Regions from separate parts of the Homo sapiens genome. Here regions 2 and 3 are each linked to region 1. The links are contacts of gene promoters, found by promoter capture Hi-C in blood cells and fetal thymus (Javierre and others, 2016). All regions are on one chromosome and are shown on one strand. Each heading gives the region's core, a stretch centred on a gene start or on the middle of the fragment in contact. The rest is flanking DNA. Distances are from core to core; before and after follow the strand shown.

Region 1 (5,041 bases), core at 1,233-3,732:
ACTTGGGAGGCTGAGGCAGGAGAATCGCTTGAACCCGGGAGGGGGAGGTTGCAGTGAGCCCAGATGGCGCCACTGCACTCCAGGCCTGGGCGACAGAGCGAGATTCCGTCTAAAAAAAGAAAAAAAAAAAGACAAATGTTTATAATCAAGATTTCCAATTTTGAAACCTAAAGTTGAATATTTTCTAAAAATTACATTACTAGGACGCTATACCCCTAGTTTACTTTTTCATCCAAAGAACAAGGAACTGCACATACAGCCTGCTTTATCATCACAACTCAATAATTAAACAGGTACAGCAGCCCTTTCACAGCCAGAGGAACATCAACTTTTTTCAAGGTTACTGTTATTAAAACCTGAGAAATGGGAAACCAAGATATGGCAAATGCCCCAGACGTATCTATCAAGCTAACCGTTAGTTCATTAGATTTCTAAATAAGAAAGGTCCATAAACGGTCCATATAAAACTCGCCTATATCTAGTAAGTTTCAGTGACCAAGAAAGATTACGTTGTTTTGTAAGACTTTTTTTTTTTTTTTGCCCACCTTCCTGAATTTGGAAAACTTTCTTAAAATCAGGCCTGGGCGCGGTGGCTCAAGCTTGTAATTTCAGCACTTTGGGAGGCCGAGGCAGGCGGATCACTAGGTCAAGAGATCGAGACCATCCTGGCCAACATGGTGAAACCCCGTCTCTACTAAAGGTATGAAAATTAGCTGGGCATGGCGGCGCACGTCTGTAGTCCCGGCTACTCGGGAGGCTGAGGCAGGAAAATCGCTTGAACCCGGGAGGCGGAGTTTGCAGTGAGTGGAGATCGCGCCACTGCACTCCAGCCTGGGCGACAAACTGAGGCTCCGTCTCAAAAACAAAACAAAACAAAAACACAAAATTAGCCGGGCATGGTGGCGCATGCCTGCCTCAGGAGGCTGAGGCAGGAGAATCGCTTGAACCCGGGAGGCGGAGATTTCGGTAAGCCGAGATCGCGGCATTGCACTCCAGCCTGGGCAACAAGAGCGAAACTCCGTCTCCACATAAATAAATAATCATTTTTGTAGGCAAATATAACAAATACAGCAAAACGTCATAGAATCTAGAAAGAGTATATATGCATATGTATCTATCACTTTTTCAACTTTTCTGTGTGTGAAAATTTTGGACACTGAAGTGAAAATAAACGCTTTCAAAGTCAGAATACAAAGAATTATCTATTGCAACTTCAACCCACCTGAAGCTTTGAGGCCTCTGATCAACTCACAAACCTACATTTCAAGCACTCGATGAAAAAGCCCTTTCTTAAGACGGCAAGACTTTGAGATTCATCAACTGATAAAATATAAAAGCGATACTAAAAATAATCTCTCACCTAATGTAAGTTCACCTAGAAAGTCATTTACCAGGAGGTTTCATGAGAAACTTAACTTAACTTTACTCAGTAAAAGAGCTTTTCCCTCTATTACCACTTCGCCTACGTTTTTCGTAATTCCCAACAGTAAGCTTTAACTGAAGAAGAAGAAAAAAAAAACATCCCCAGCAAGCAGATCCGGGCACCCCTCCCAGGTCCTAAAGCCTGCAAAAACCCAAAGAGTTCGTGGCGCTGGTGGCTCCAGCTGTTAGTTTCCCGGGCAGTCTCCGGGTTGGATTTGCACCCTGGGGTCTACACGGGTTAAAAACGCGGAAAAAAGGCGACGAAGAAATACAAACTGCCAGGGTGTCGAAATGAAAGGAGCGACTGTGAAAGGGGTAAGGAAAAATCCAAGCCATCTCTACGGGGAGGATCCAGAAAGCACCAGCCGCGCCAGGGGGTCAACCAACTCCGACACCGCTCGGCGTCAGCTGGGCGCCACCAGGCGCGGACTTCGGAGCGAGGGCAGGTGCGCGGGCCGGAAGCCTCGGGCGCTCACCTGGCACCTACCTGGAGCTCACCTGGCGCCCGGGCCCCGCGCCGCCGCCCCCCGCCCAGCCCGCCGCGCCCGCACCTCGCGGTCCTTGAGGCCCAGCAGGAGCACTTCCTCCATCAGGGTCAGCCGCGTTTCCTTGGAGTCGCCCTTGTCGTCGTCGTCCTGCTCGTCGCGGCGGCTCTGCGCGTCGTCCTCGCTGCTGCCGGCGCCGCCGCCCGCCGCCCGCTCCTTGTCGGCGGCGTTGCGGGAGGCCTCGGTGCGCCGCTGCACCAGGCCGGAGCTGCGCTGGGTCAGCGAGGTCATGGCTCCCGCCGAGGCGCCGAGCCGGGCCGAGAGGGTCGCAGGACCGACCGGGTCGCCCTCCTCCTCCCCGCGCGGCCTCCGATCCGGGTTTCCGTGTTAAATCCGGACGCCGGGGCGACGTCCGTCGGCAGCAGGGCCGGGGGCAGTCATGAGGAAACAGGTCAGGGCGAAGCGGGCTGGCCGGGCGTCGGCGGGGCAGGAGAGGAGCGCCTTCCTGCCTGTGGCCGCAGTCCCCGAAACACCCCGAGCTCCAAGGCGGAGGCGGCGGCGGCGCCTTTCCAATATGGCGGCCCCGGCTGACGTCACCGGAGGATGTGGCAGAGTCGGCGCGGGAGAGCTGGGCCGGGAGGCGCCGGAAGCGGCGGCCGGGGATCCGCTGCCACTGCAGCCTACACCCTTCCCGGCCCTCGGTGCTTGTCTTTTCTTTGGCGTTCCTGCGCCCCCTGACCCGCGGTCCTGCAGTCCTGCTCCCGTGACGTGCCCTCCCTCCTTCCGTTCCCCGTTTCCCCTTCACTACCCAGGGCTGGAGCCTGAACCTGGCGGGGCCCCCCGTGAATGGAAGAGCCTGGGCCACGCGAAGGTGGACCCCACTCAGCCTCCAGCCGTGCCCTCCACGCCCCAGACACCGCCGTCTTCGGAGGCGACTCCGCGGTCGTGTGGACGGGGTCCCATTTGGACTCCGGGGTCTGCAGGATCGGCAGGAAGGACTTTGCTCTCTGCTGCTGGGCGGGGAGGGGTACGCTATCTGCCGGGACTCCCTAACCCTTTAGAAGGAGCAAGTGCGTCCAAATGGTTTGAAAGTGGACCTTTATTGTTTTCCAGGAGTAAGAAGATAGAACAGTTGACCAGTTTTGTTTGTAAAACTTCTTTCCTTGCCTCGGACTTGTGCTATAAAGTGACCAGGGCGTAGTGAGTACAGTTAGTACCGCACACGTTAGCACGCTCGACCTTAACGATCTTTTTATAGAGACAATAAACCTGCAGCGTTTCATGCCACGTCTTTGTACGCATCGGATGTCTCTCCGTGTAGTTACTAGGTGAAATCCTCTTGGCGTGCGCAAATTAGGTTAAAAAAATAGCTGTCAAACCTGAGACAGGAGTTGGAGGAGTAGAGGGTGGCGCTTGTTAAGTGAAACATTTAACCAGGAATGGTATTGTGTGCCATCCTGTATTAAACAATGTATGGACAGAGTGGAACAACAGCAAAGCAAAAAATAAAAATTTTTTAAAAAAAGTGATCATGGGCTGTGGCTAAAGAGTGCTTTAGATGGATTCTTCTCTTCCACAAATCCATTATCCAGAACTGCTGCTGCCTACCATCCCATGCCCTGGAAAGTGACAGTGCTAAATGAAGGGAAGAGAGGGTCCAGGGGGCACACCAAGTAGACCTTCCCTTTTTCCCACCTGTCTTGGTGAAGGTCGATTTCACCTCAACCAATTTCTCCCATTCACACCCTCTTTTTTTTTTTTTTTTTTTTTTTTTTGAGACGGAGTCTTGCTCTGTTGCCCAGGCTGGGGTGCAGTGGCACAATCTCGGCTCACTGCAAGCTCTGCCTCCCGGGTTCACGCCATTCTCCTGCCTCAGCCTCCTGAGTAGCTGGACTACAGGCGCCCGCCACCACGCCTGGCTAATTTTTTGTATTTTTAGTGGAGACGGGGTTTCACCGTGTTAGCCAGGATGGTCTCGATCACCTGACCTCGTGATCCGCCGGCCTTGGCCTCCCAAAGTGCTGGGATTACAGGCGTGAGCCACCGCGCCAGCCCACACCCTCTTTGGACCTTTTTTCTTCATCTTTTCTGATTTTACCAAATGTTGTAGCTTGAAATATTTCTTTGTAAAATAAATGTAATTAATTTATTATGTGAAAAAAGTTAATCAGGAGTAGTGGCCCACATCTGTAGTCCCAGGTCTTCGGGAGGCTGAGGCAGGAGAACCGCTTGAGCCCAGAATTTGAGGCTGCCATGAGGGTGATCGTGCCACTGCACACCAGCCTGAGAGACAGAGCAAGACCCTGTCTCAAAAAAAAAAAAAAAAAATTGGCTGGGCGCGTTGGCTCACGCCTGTAATCCTAGCACTTTGGAAGGCCAAGGCGGACGGATCAGGAGGTCAGGAGATCGAGACCATCCTGGCTAACACGGTGAAACCCCGTCTCTACTAAAAATACAAAAAATTAGCCGGGCGTGGTGGCGGGCCCCTGTAGTCCCAGCTACTCGGGAGGCTGAGGCAGGAGAATGGCGTGAACCCCGGAGGCGGAGCTTGCAGTGAGCAGAGATTGCGCCACTGCACTCCAGCCTGGGTGACAGAGCGAGACTCCGTCTCAAAAAAAAAAAAAAATTACTTGACTAATATAGTCAAGTATGTAGTTCAAAGAGTACAAAGATATGTGTAGTGAAAATCTCCCTCCCAGCTCTGCCCCTGTTCACCCAGTTGTTCTCCTTTCTCTCCTGAAGGTTTTAATGCCAACAAATCCTCTGATACTCCTCCCCTCAAAATGTGAAGCCTAATTTCCCTCCCCCTGAGTGTGGGCCAGACTTAGTGACTCTCTTGAAATGAATAGAATGTGGCCAACATGACTGTGTGGCACTTCTCAGGTCATGAAAGTCTATGCAGCTTTTTTCCTCCCCAGCTGCCCTCCACCCCCAGCCATCATGATGGGTGGGGGTGGAGGGCAGCTGGGGAAGAAGTGAGGGAGGAAGGAAGGAGATATTTTAAAAACAGGAAGAGGAAGAAAGGATATTTTAGGAAGGAAAAAAGAAGGAATTTTAGGAATGAGAATATTCCTAATTACAACAATGAGTGTTACTTTTTAAAAAATTTTTATTTATTTATTTATTTATTTTTG
Region 2 (5,041 bases), core at 1,610-4,109, 1.8 Mb after region 1:
CAGTTAGGTCACAGCTCATTATGTAAGAGAAACCTTTAGGTGGAACTTAAAATACGTAAGGGGGCAGCTTTATGCTACAGTTAATTTAACAACGCTGTGCTCATCATGTGGGCTCAGATTGAGTGTAAATACAGCAAAACGCACTCCATATTCCAGAGTTATCTTAACTACAGTTTCCAAGGAAACAGCACTACAATAAGGCAGCCTCCAGCTCTTCACAGGCAGGCCCAGGTCTGGAATTCTGCTGCTAAACACTGTGAAAACTTTCGGCCCATTAGAAGGTATCTGCCTTCCCCTAATCAGCTTCTGCAATTGCCTGTGTCACAAGGGGTCCTAGTGATGAAGTAATGACTATGATTTACTGATTCTTTTAGCCTTGTGTAATTAGCAAACACTTACTAGCCCCTAATGGAAATATGAACCCAGAAGAAAGATTACAACATTTTCACATACCCTAAAACCTTACTATCTTCTTTATTTAATTTATTTATTTTGAAACACGGTCTCACTCTGTCACCCAGGCTGAAGTGTAGTAGTGTGGTCTCGGCTCACTGCAACCTCTGCCTCCTGGGTTCAAGCAATTCTCATGCCTCAGCCTCCCAGGGAGCTGGGACTGCAGACGCGTACCACCAAGCCCAGCTACTTTTTTGTATTTTAGTAGAGATGGGGTTTCACCATGTTGGCCAGGCTGGTCTCGAACTCCTGACCTCAGGTGATCCACCCACCTCAGCCTCCCAAAGTGCTGGGATTACAGGCGTGAGCCACCATGCCCAGCCAACCTTACTATCTTCTAATCATTATATAATTCTGATTAGCTACATTCTGCTGAAAGCAGCAATCACCTTTTATTTATATTTGATGATAATCAATTGCATCTCTTCAGTAAATTATTCAAATTATTACTAGAGAAGTATCTAGGCTCAAATTCTCCTTAACACTCCCAAGACTCCATGTTTGCTCTTAGTTCATTCCTTTTGGACCCCAGGGACCATGCTCTTGGGGCAGCAGGGGAAGTTGTTGAAAGCAGTGGCTTTAGGGTCCAACTGCCTGGGGCAGTGCTTCGGACCCTTTCCCGTCATCTGCTTTAGAGGAAGGCAGTTAACCTCGCCAAGCCTTCAAGTCTTCAATGCCAATGATAGTAGCACGTCTCCCTCAGGGAACTGTGTGGATCACAGAAGCCCTGTGGAAGGTACCGGTCTTGAGTTTGGCGGGTACTGGTATAAATCCGGTGCTGCTATCTCATGCAGCGACTATGCCATGAGTACGCCAAGAGCTGGCCCACAAAAGATAAACCACACTCCCCTGCTGCTGGTACACACTTCAGAGAGGGCACACTGGAAAGTGTGAGATGTGCCCTGATGACAGTGTCCCACAGGCACACACTCAGTACAGGGCTGGTCATGATTCACCATGAACAGGAGAAGGAAGCGCAGGCTGAAGCTTTGGAGATGAGGGGGTTTCTGGTAGAAAATGGATTTTGTGAAGATCAGCCAGGACCCAATCCAGTTGACACTCTCAGTCTCTAAACTCTTGAGGTATCCACCAACATTTGACCCTCTGACCACTCCTTTCTTTGGTTTCCATGACAACACTCCATTCTGCTTCTCTCCTTAGCTGTCCTCAGCCCTTGCTTCTCTTTTCTGCCCACGCATTCCTTAAATGCCGGTGTTCTATCCCCTTTCCTAGTGGATCACATAGTCTCATATGGCTCCCAAATAACTCCGAAATCTGTTTCTAGTCCCTAACCTCAAGTATCCCACCTGGATATCTGAAAGGCACTTTAAAACTGAAAAGACCAAAACTGAGTTCCTTTTCTTCTAGTAAAAATAACCACAATGACAAACTTTTACAGAGGGCCCACTGTACGCCAGGCACTGTTCCCACACTGAACAATGGATGAACTCATTGAATTCTCATAGCAACTAACAATGCTATGAGGTGGATGTCATTATTATCTCCATTTTACAAAGGAAACTACAGCACAGAGAGGTTAAGTAACTTGCCCAAGATCACAGAGCTAGTAAATGGCAGAGCTGGGACGGAGGTAGTCAGCTGCCACTCTATGCTCTGACCACTGTGTTCAGCAGTCTTCCCTCAAGACACTAGCAGGTCATCTAAGCCAGAAACCTGGGAGCCAGCCTCAACTTCTCCCTCTTCGCTCCCTGTCAGTCCATTATCAATTCCCAGCAATTTTATACCTCAAATGTCCCTTCAATGCAAACCAACTCTACCATTAACTGCTTTAGTACTTGCCCTGATCTCTTCAGCAATAACCCAGTCATTGGTCTCTGTACCTCCAGTCTTGTCTCCTCAGATCCATTCTCCATCCCACCTCCAAATGTCTGTGAAAATGCAAACACGCAGTGGTGGTGCTGGAGTGGGCTCTCTTACCCACTAGCTGTGAGATCTTGAGCAAATGGCAATGCTTCCGTTCCCTCCTCTTTAAAACAACAAGGTATTCCAAATGCAGTTTTGAGAATAAGAAGAAATCACACAGGGAATGTGCTCAGCAGAACATGAGGCAAGCACTCAGTGGATGACAGTGAACAAACAGAAGTGTTATGATATCAGAGCATCCCCTATAAAACGCAGCAGGAAGGTTTAGACAGGGAGGTCCATTTGACCTTAGCATTCCTAAGAATTTTCTCTACCAGCTGAGGGAGACTTCTTGAACTTTTTTTGAATGACGACTGCTTGAAAATGATATACTAAGCACAAGAGATACTTGGGGAAAATTGTTGAAATATTTAGGTTGGCAAATATTTGGCAAAACCTGCAATTACTTTTGCACCAACCTAAAACAACGTAGGAATCACATGAGTCACAGAAAGTTCAGAGAACTGACTCCAAGGACAGATGATCAAAATATGACATTCTAACAGATATATAAAAGACATAAGTCTATTTTAAAAAGAAAAGGATATCCTTGGTAACCTGGCTTGAAACTTCAAATGTCATTTATCTCTTGTCTTCTTCTTCAAAAAAAGGATTTTAAGCAGCTATATCTTAAACTTAGGGACAAGTGGCAGGCATCTACCCCAATTAATACTTACCATATTTGCATCAATGACCTGACCCTTGCCAGTGCGTGTGCGGTCAAAAAGAGCCATTATAATGCCCAGTGCACACATAAGGCCACCACCAGCAAAGTCAGCCAGGAGATTCAGCGGGGCATACGGATTCTCACCACTTCTGCCAATTTTTGAGAGAACACCTACATCATTAAAAACAAATTTAATGTCTCTTTTAAATTTAATCTCTTCTTAAAATAAATATGTGAGCATCTTAGAGGAATAATCAATCTCTCCAGCAGATAATCTAAGTGAAAGCTAGTATACATCACTTTTCCAAATCTGAGCTTAGTCAGTAAACTCATAAACAGGCTTTCCCTCAAGACAGGATCCTTGTTTTGTTGTTTTCCTCTCTAAAACCTATTCCAACCAACATTTTCAAATATTGCTAAGTTTTTACTCACTTACTTTTGGAAAAGAAAATGATTATTTATTTTGTGGTTTTAAAACAGTAAATGCACTTTCATTCTTAGCATAAAGAAATGTAAGAAAATACTTGCAGACAAGAAAAAAAAGGAATTTAATTTTTAAGTAGATGTGAAGAGACAATTCTATACCCACTTCTTTCCTCAACTTTTAAATGTGTACTCACAGAAAATCTGAAATGTCCTATAGTCAACAACACATGGTTCTTAGAATTCTGGAATCAGGCCTATCTCACATGTCGTCACAGGCAAAAACTCTAATAAAGTGATATTAGGACCTGAAAACCATGGGCTTTTTTTAGTGCTCATAGAAGTCTGAAACAATGACTCAGGCAATGATTCTCAATATGGTGGGTGGAGATTTCGGGGTCCGGGGGAGAAGTAGCTGTCAGAATCTAACTATGTCAACATTTTCAAACCACAGAGCAACCATCCGTAGTACCCAGTAAGCCTCTTAATTCCTAGCAGGGGTTTGTCTGAGAATTGACTCAACAAATGTAGTAAATAAATGATAGTAGTGGGCATGTATTAACCTTCCAACCTGTTAAGGGATGGGGTGAGGGAAGGTTGAGAATGATTGTTTCAAGACTCAAACCGATCCATTTTGAACACCCATGCTCTCTTGATTGATTCTGATAAATGTTTAAATTTTTACCTTTACAAATTATTGTTAATCAACATACCTGTAGATCTTGATGGAATAAATTAAAAGTGTAGACTAAATTTTTTTTCAACATACCTGACAAAGCCAAATAGTTGATATCGTGGCCAGCTAACCGGCAGAAGCTTCCTGACTGGCCAAATCCACTCAGCCTGGCATAAATAAGCCTTGGATTTTCCCGCTGCAGAATCTCTGGGCCCAGCTGGAGTTTCTCCATGACACCTTAAGAGAAAAGTAACGATCTTCTTAAGAGAGTATGAATTGAGGATGGAGATAATCCCTTCTCTGAGACAAACATAAAATAGCACCATTGCAAGTAATATTAATAACATTTGCTGTAGGCTAATGGCATGTTTACAGCAGTTAAGGACTCAAAGAGTGAAGCCACCATTTCTGGAATGTGTGGCTTCTTCCCAGGATGTAATTTCTCCCAGTACATCTCTGTTTCCCTCTAGGTTTATCCAAGCCTATTTATTCAATCCCCAGAGCAGGGTCTCATCCCTTTAGTAAATCCCTTTTCTCTTTTTCTATACCGCATCAGTGTTTACCACATCCCACCTTAGCTGCACTTGCTTGTACATGCATACACTTATCTTCCCTATCAGCTCATGAGCTCCTCCTGCAGAATTTACACCTGATGTTTCCACAGGCGCTAAAGTGCCTAGCATCAGTACCTTCACGAAAAAGTTTAGCACCCATCTGTAGAAAGAGTGGTTAGTGACAATAGCACCTGAGAGTTTTTAAGCTATCAACAAGTATAGTATTTATAGCACAAACCCCAGGTAACCAGCACCTGAAATTTCCTGGGATTAAAAGTAATCAAAATTACATAATAAACTCACTATCTTTACCTTCCTAAGGCTAAAATAAATCACAGAAAACCT
Region 3 (5,041 bases), core at 1,444-3,943, 1.3 Mb after region 1:
AGCCACCAGGCCTGGCTAATTTTTTGTATTTTTAGTAGAGACGGGGTTTCACCGTGTTAGCCAGGATGGTCTCGATCTCCTGACCTCGTGATCCGCCCGTCTCGGCCTCCCAAAGTTCTTGGATTACAGGCGTGATCCACCGCGCCCGGCCTCATTCAGTCTTCTTAATAACGCTGTGAAGTGGGTTCTGTTATTATCTCCATTATACAGATGAGAAAGCAGGCGTAGGAACAGTAACTTGCTCAAACCCAGTATCCCCGTTTTTTTCCTTCCTCAAACCCAGTATCCTATAGCCAATACTAATAACCCCTGTGCTGTTCTGAGTGAGTCAGGGACAGATCATTCCTGAGAAAGGTAATTCTGTAGCTTCTCTTCACAATCCGGTTCTGTTTCCCAACTTTTGGGTTGAGATTTTAGATTACTTGTATGTAGATGTACATACCATATATACTCAGGGAAATAGAGAACAGTTGCCTACTCTCTTCCCAGTGTTGTAGAAAAGGGGTCATAGGCCTCAGGGTTCCAGAGAGACCTGTTGTAATTTCCCAGCTCTATTACTTAATGATACAAATGGGCAAGTTACTTCTTTGAGCCAGTGTTCTTGTTTGTAAAATGGAGCCGTATTTAGAACCAGAAAACCTTTGTGGTGATTCCCTCTCTCTCTCTCCCTCTCTCTCTCTCTCTCTCTCTCTCTCTCTCTCTCTCTCTCACTACCCCTGTTCATTTGGCAAATGGTCAAAACCAAAATAATCTTATCAGAAATATAAAACTTATTTTATCATCTTTCCATTTTAAACCTGCACAGACCTGCAATTTTTCTTTCTTTTTTTTTTTTTTTTTGTTGTCGTTGTTGTTGTTGAAATGGAGTCTTGCTCTGTCTCCCAGGCTGGAGTGCAGTGGCGCGATCTCTGCTCACTGCAAGCTCCGCCTCCCGGGTTCCAGCCATTCTCCTGCCTCAGCCTCCCGAGTAGCTGGGACTACAGGCACCCGCCACCACGCCCGGCTAATTTTTTTTGTATTTTTTAGTAGAGACGGGGTTTCACCGTGTTAGCCAGGATGGTCTCGATCTCCTGACCTCGTGATCTGCCCGCCTCGGCCTCCCAAAGTGCTGGGATTACAGGCATGAGCCACCGCGCCCAGCCGCAATTTTTCTTTTTACCCAGTATACTTGATCAGTTACATCACTTCTGCAGTATAACAAAGGCTCTATTGAATCTAAATGAACCTTTAAAGTTTATTAAATCCAGACTTCTGGAGTAGGGGGGATTTTAGCTCAGCATGAAATTAGGAGTCATATTTTAAAATTAGTTTTTTTTTTAATTATACAAGTAACGCATTTTATAGGATTTAAAAGACAATGGCCAAAATGTCCATCAACTGATAAATGGATAAGTAAGCAATGGAATATTATTTGATAATAAAAAGGTACAATGACAAGTATTGATGCATGTTACAACCTGATGATCTTGAAATTATTATGCTAACTAAAAGAAGCCTGTCACAAAAGACCACATAATGTGTGATTCTATTTATATGAAATTCCCAGAATAGGCAAATCTATAGAAACAGAAACTAGGTTAATGGTTGCCAGGGTCTGGAGATGAAGGCAACAGGGAGTAAACTGCTAATGGGTACAAGGTTTCTTTTTGAGGGTGATGAAAATACTCTAAAATTGATGGTAGTGATAGTTGCAAAACAGTGAATACCTAAAAACCATTGAATTGTGTACTTTACATGGGTAACTTGTATGGTATATGAATTGTATCTTAAAACTTAAGAAAACTAAAGGTCACAAACATGCAAACTAATTAAAATCCCTGTTTACATTCCTGGCACAGGATTTATTACTTTAAAACTTTCTATGACTTCACTTGCTTCTAATTGAAGTCTGTATTCCTTATGGTAACTTTTAGTTCTTGCTTCTGTGAGCCTTAGTCTGTCTTACCTTGTATTACTTTCTAAAACAATCCTTCATTAATCAGCCTGGTTTAGTCATTTTTTCTCTCTTTAAATTTTAACATTTCTGACAACAAGCTTATGTGTACACATAGGACACATTTCCTGTATTCTCAGAATCCACCTGTTGAAATGCATTCCATCCTTTAAAACGCTAGTCCTAGCTTATTTGACATCTAATCGTAGCGTTACTACTGTGTTTTCTCCTCCGGGAGTTTCTCACACATGTATGCCTTACTTTCCCTGGAGAGACTAGGTTTACACATGGTAGGGATTGGGCCTTATGTTTGCTTCTTCCATGGCTTTTGTTAGCACTGGTGGAATTCATGGGCACACTTTGCATTCAGTTTTTTTTTTTTTCCCCTGGAAATATGCTTACTGAATCAACTGCGTGCTTCCTTGTGGCCATATGTTTGGTATGTGGTCCAAGTAAACCTGAAGCGAGAGTCACAAGAATAGTTAAAATAAAATAAATGAAATTTGAGGAGTTAAACATCGTTAGTAACTCCTTCCTACTTTTTAAAGACTTGCCTTTATTGTAAGTTGTTAACCTGTCTTTGCCAGTGATGAAATTGTTCAGTCTTTCAATATCAGATTTCCATTTTTTTTAAATTAAATAACAAATACTAAAATAACATTCTCAACACTTCCTGGGGCATCACAGGATGGAGGTGTCACATTAGATTAAAATATAAAACGTTTTTTGCTTATTTAGATTGGTGCTGGTGAAGAGAAGCAAAAGGAAGGAGGCAAAAAGAAGAACAAAGAAGGATCTGGAGATGGAGGTCGAGCTGAGGTAAAAGTTATCATCACAGAGGGCTCTGTTATCAGAGGTTGGCAAATCGCAGGGAACTTTCTGAGACTTTCCTAATGTGTAAGGGTTCTAATGGTTTACATGGTAGTGTAAGATGGTACTGGTTGGAAAAATCAGGAAGAAGAATTAGGAAAGGGTAATCTGAGAGGGGAAAAAAGACTTTCAGTTGTTACTGTAAAAGGAAGCAACTGGCGTATGATTGTATAAGATGATCTGATTGTAGGGTTGAATATAAAAATCAGAGAACAAAAGTTGAAGAGGAGACTGGTAATTATTCAGTTGCCAGATGTGATGCCAGCTCTGACATTTCATTAAATGAGATGTTAGGGAATAGAGACTTGGTGTTTGGGCTTACACTGAATACAATGAAAACCAAAGAAAGCCAGTTTTTTGACCCCCTCCTTGCCCTTTCCATCTGGACCTGCCCTAGGGTTGGCTTCTAAGCCAGGACAGATCCCCTTAAGGCCTCTCAAGTCTGCAGAAAATGCTTTCACTTCTCCAGGCTCACACTGAAAGGAACTGGCATATCAAAAGCCAGCCCTAAATCAACCTGGTTCCTGAGTATTTTGCTTTTACAGGCAGTTAAGCTTGCCTTTCTACTTTATTTTTACTGCTGTGAACTGTGCTTCACTTTTTGCTTTAGTCATTACAGCTGTTTTATTGGAGACTCTTTAGAAAGCTACCAGAAGGAAGAAGCACAAAGGAACAGCCTTTTTAGAAGTAGCACAGTAAGCTGGCTTTTAAGAGCCACTTTTACAAATGCTGCAATTGCTAAATTTATAGTGCCGTCATTTACTTTAGGGTAAGTTTATAGATGATCAAGTGTAGTGTTGCTTAGAACCCTACCTAACCATTTATCTTACGGCTGATCAGTTGATCAGTCTCCCGACCATTATACCCCCACTGTAATTGTGAAGAAAATTGTTGATTGTGAATTTTAAAATTTGCAAGCCAATGGAAAAATGCATATGTTCCCTAATTTCTTTTTTATACTTTCAATACAAACATACGTGCTGTTCCATCACAGCTTGAGAAATGACCTGGAAATAAGACAAAGAGTATAATTAGAAGACTCTTCTGAACAGAGAATTTTAAGTGGGACATGTGATTATTTATGTTTAACGATTGGTCTGGAAAAAAGAGTGTACAGTGAACTGTCCAAGACCTTGGTCTTCCCCTCCAAGGGCAACTTGCAGGTTTTATTCATCTCTGCAATCACAGAGACTGACACAGAGGGTATCTGCTGAATGAATGTTGAAGAGATTTTGACACGAAATTCTAATTGGGACATTGCAAGTGGCTATGATGATAAACTGCAGTTAAGATACAGAGGGTGGTGCAGGTGGGTAGGATTATAATGATGCTTTAGAGTGGATGGAACTGGGTACTGTGCATTAGTCTGAGGGGTTCAGATTATGGTTGTAGAATGACAGGCTCTGTCTGAGCTTTTAGTTAATTCATGGGTTCTTCACCATTGAAGGTTATGGACCGTTGTGATAATTTGATGAAAAGCTCTCAACAACTGAACGACTAAAGAAAGGGAGGGACTGCTGTGGGTGGGAATTACAAAGATATTAGGGCCTGATACGGTGGTAGGAACCAATCACTTGAGACTGAGTGGGAGAATCACTGGAGCCCAGGAGTTTGGGGCCAAAATGCGCTGTGACTGTGCCTGTGAATAGTCACTGCGCTCCAGCCAGCCTAGGCAACATAGTGAAACCCTGTCGTTAAAGAATGGAAAGAAGGAGGGAGGGAAGGAATTACTGGGCAGACAATTAATCTTTTTCATTTGATATTATTTTCTATTATCTCCAGTCAATTTTGTTTTGTTTTGTTTTGTTTGAGACAAGGTCTCACTCTGTTGCCCAGGTTGGAGTGCAGTGGCCCAATCTTGGCTCACTGCAACCTCCACCTCCCAGGTTCAAGCAATTCTTATGCCTCAGCCCCACAAGTAGCTGGGACTACAGGTGTGCGCCACCACACCTGGCTAATTTTTGTATTTTTAGTAGAGATAGGATTTTGCCATGTTGGCCAGGGTGGTATCGAACTCCTGGCCTCAAGTGATCCATCTGCCTTGGCCTCCCTAAGTGCTGGGATTACAGGAATGAACCACCATGCCCTGCCCCAGTCAGTTTCTTAAGGATTAGATATTCCCTTGTACTCCTTTCAAATTGTGGTATGTTGATATATATGGAGACATATGTATGGAGACGTTGGTAGCATTATCAACATTGAATAAATGTTAAAATCTGTATTGCAGTAAGTCATTTT

Evidence for each region. The method cuts DNA at HindIII sites, captures the fragments that hold promoters and counts their contacts. A CHiCAGO score of 5 or more calls a contact.
Region 2: a contact is called between a fragment that was not itself captured here and the fragment with the promoter of GOLPH3 in region 1, in 1 of 17 cell types (non-activated CD4 T cells). The highest score is 8.7, in non-activated CD4 T cells.
Region 3: a fragment that was not itself captured here is called in contact with the fragment with the promoter of GOLPH3 in region 1 in 3 of 17 cell types (non-activated CD4 T cells, fetal thymus and total B cells); the score reaches 7.9 in non-activated CD4 T cells.

What each region holds. Positions count from the first base shown.
Region 1 is chr5:32,171,837-32,176,877 of GRCh38, forward strand. It overlaps GOLPH3 (golgi phosphoprotein 3), which reads right to left and starts at 2,483. Exons shown (of 4, transcript NM_022130.4): 1 at 1,974-2,483. The coding sequence starts at 2,198. RefSeq lists a silencer at 1,767-2,376. The HindIII fragment of the contact is 5,568 bases long and covers 1,490-5,041 here.
Region 2 is chr5:34,001,521-34,006,561 of GRCh38, forward strand. It overlaps AMACR (alpha-methylacyl-CoA racemase), which reads right to left. Exons shown (of 5, transcript NM_014324.6): 2 at 4,236-4,379; 3 at 3,054-3,214. C1QTNF3-AMACR (C1QTNF3-AMACR readthrough (NMD candidate)) reads right to left here. Exons shown (of 9, transcript NR_037951.1): 7 at 4,236-4,379. Among named protein-coding and RNA genes, the nearest start is that of AMACR, 4.0 kb to the right of the region's middle. The HindIII fragment of the contact is 2,842 bases long and covers 1,439-4,280 here.
Region 3 is chr5:33,442,653-33,447,693 of GRCh38, forward strand. TARS1 (threonyl-tRNA synthetase 1) reads left to right here. Exons shown (of 19, transcript NM_152295.5): 2 at 2,672-2,752. Among named protein-coding and RNA genes, the nearest start is that of TARS1, 4.2 kb to the left of the region's middle. The HindIII fragment of the contact is 1,323 bases long and covers 2,033-3,355 here.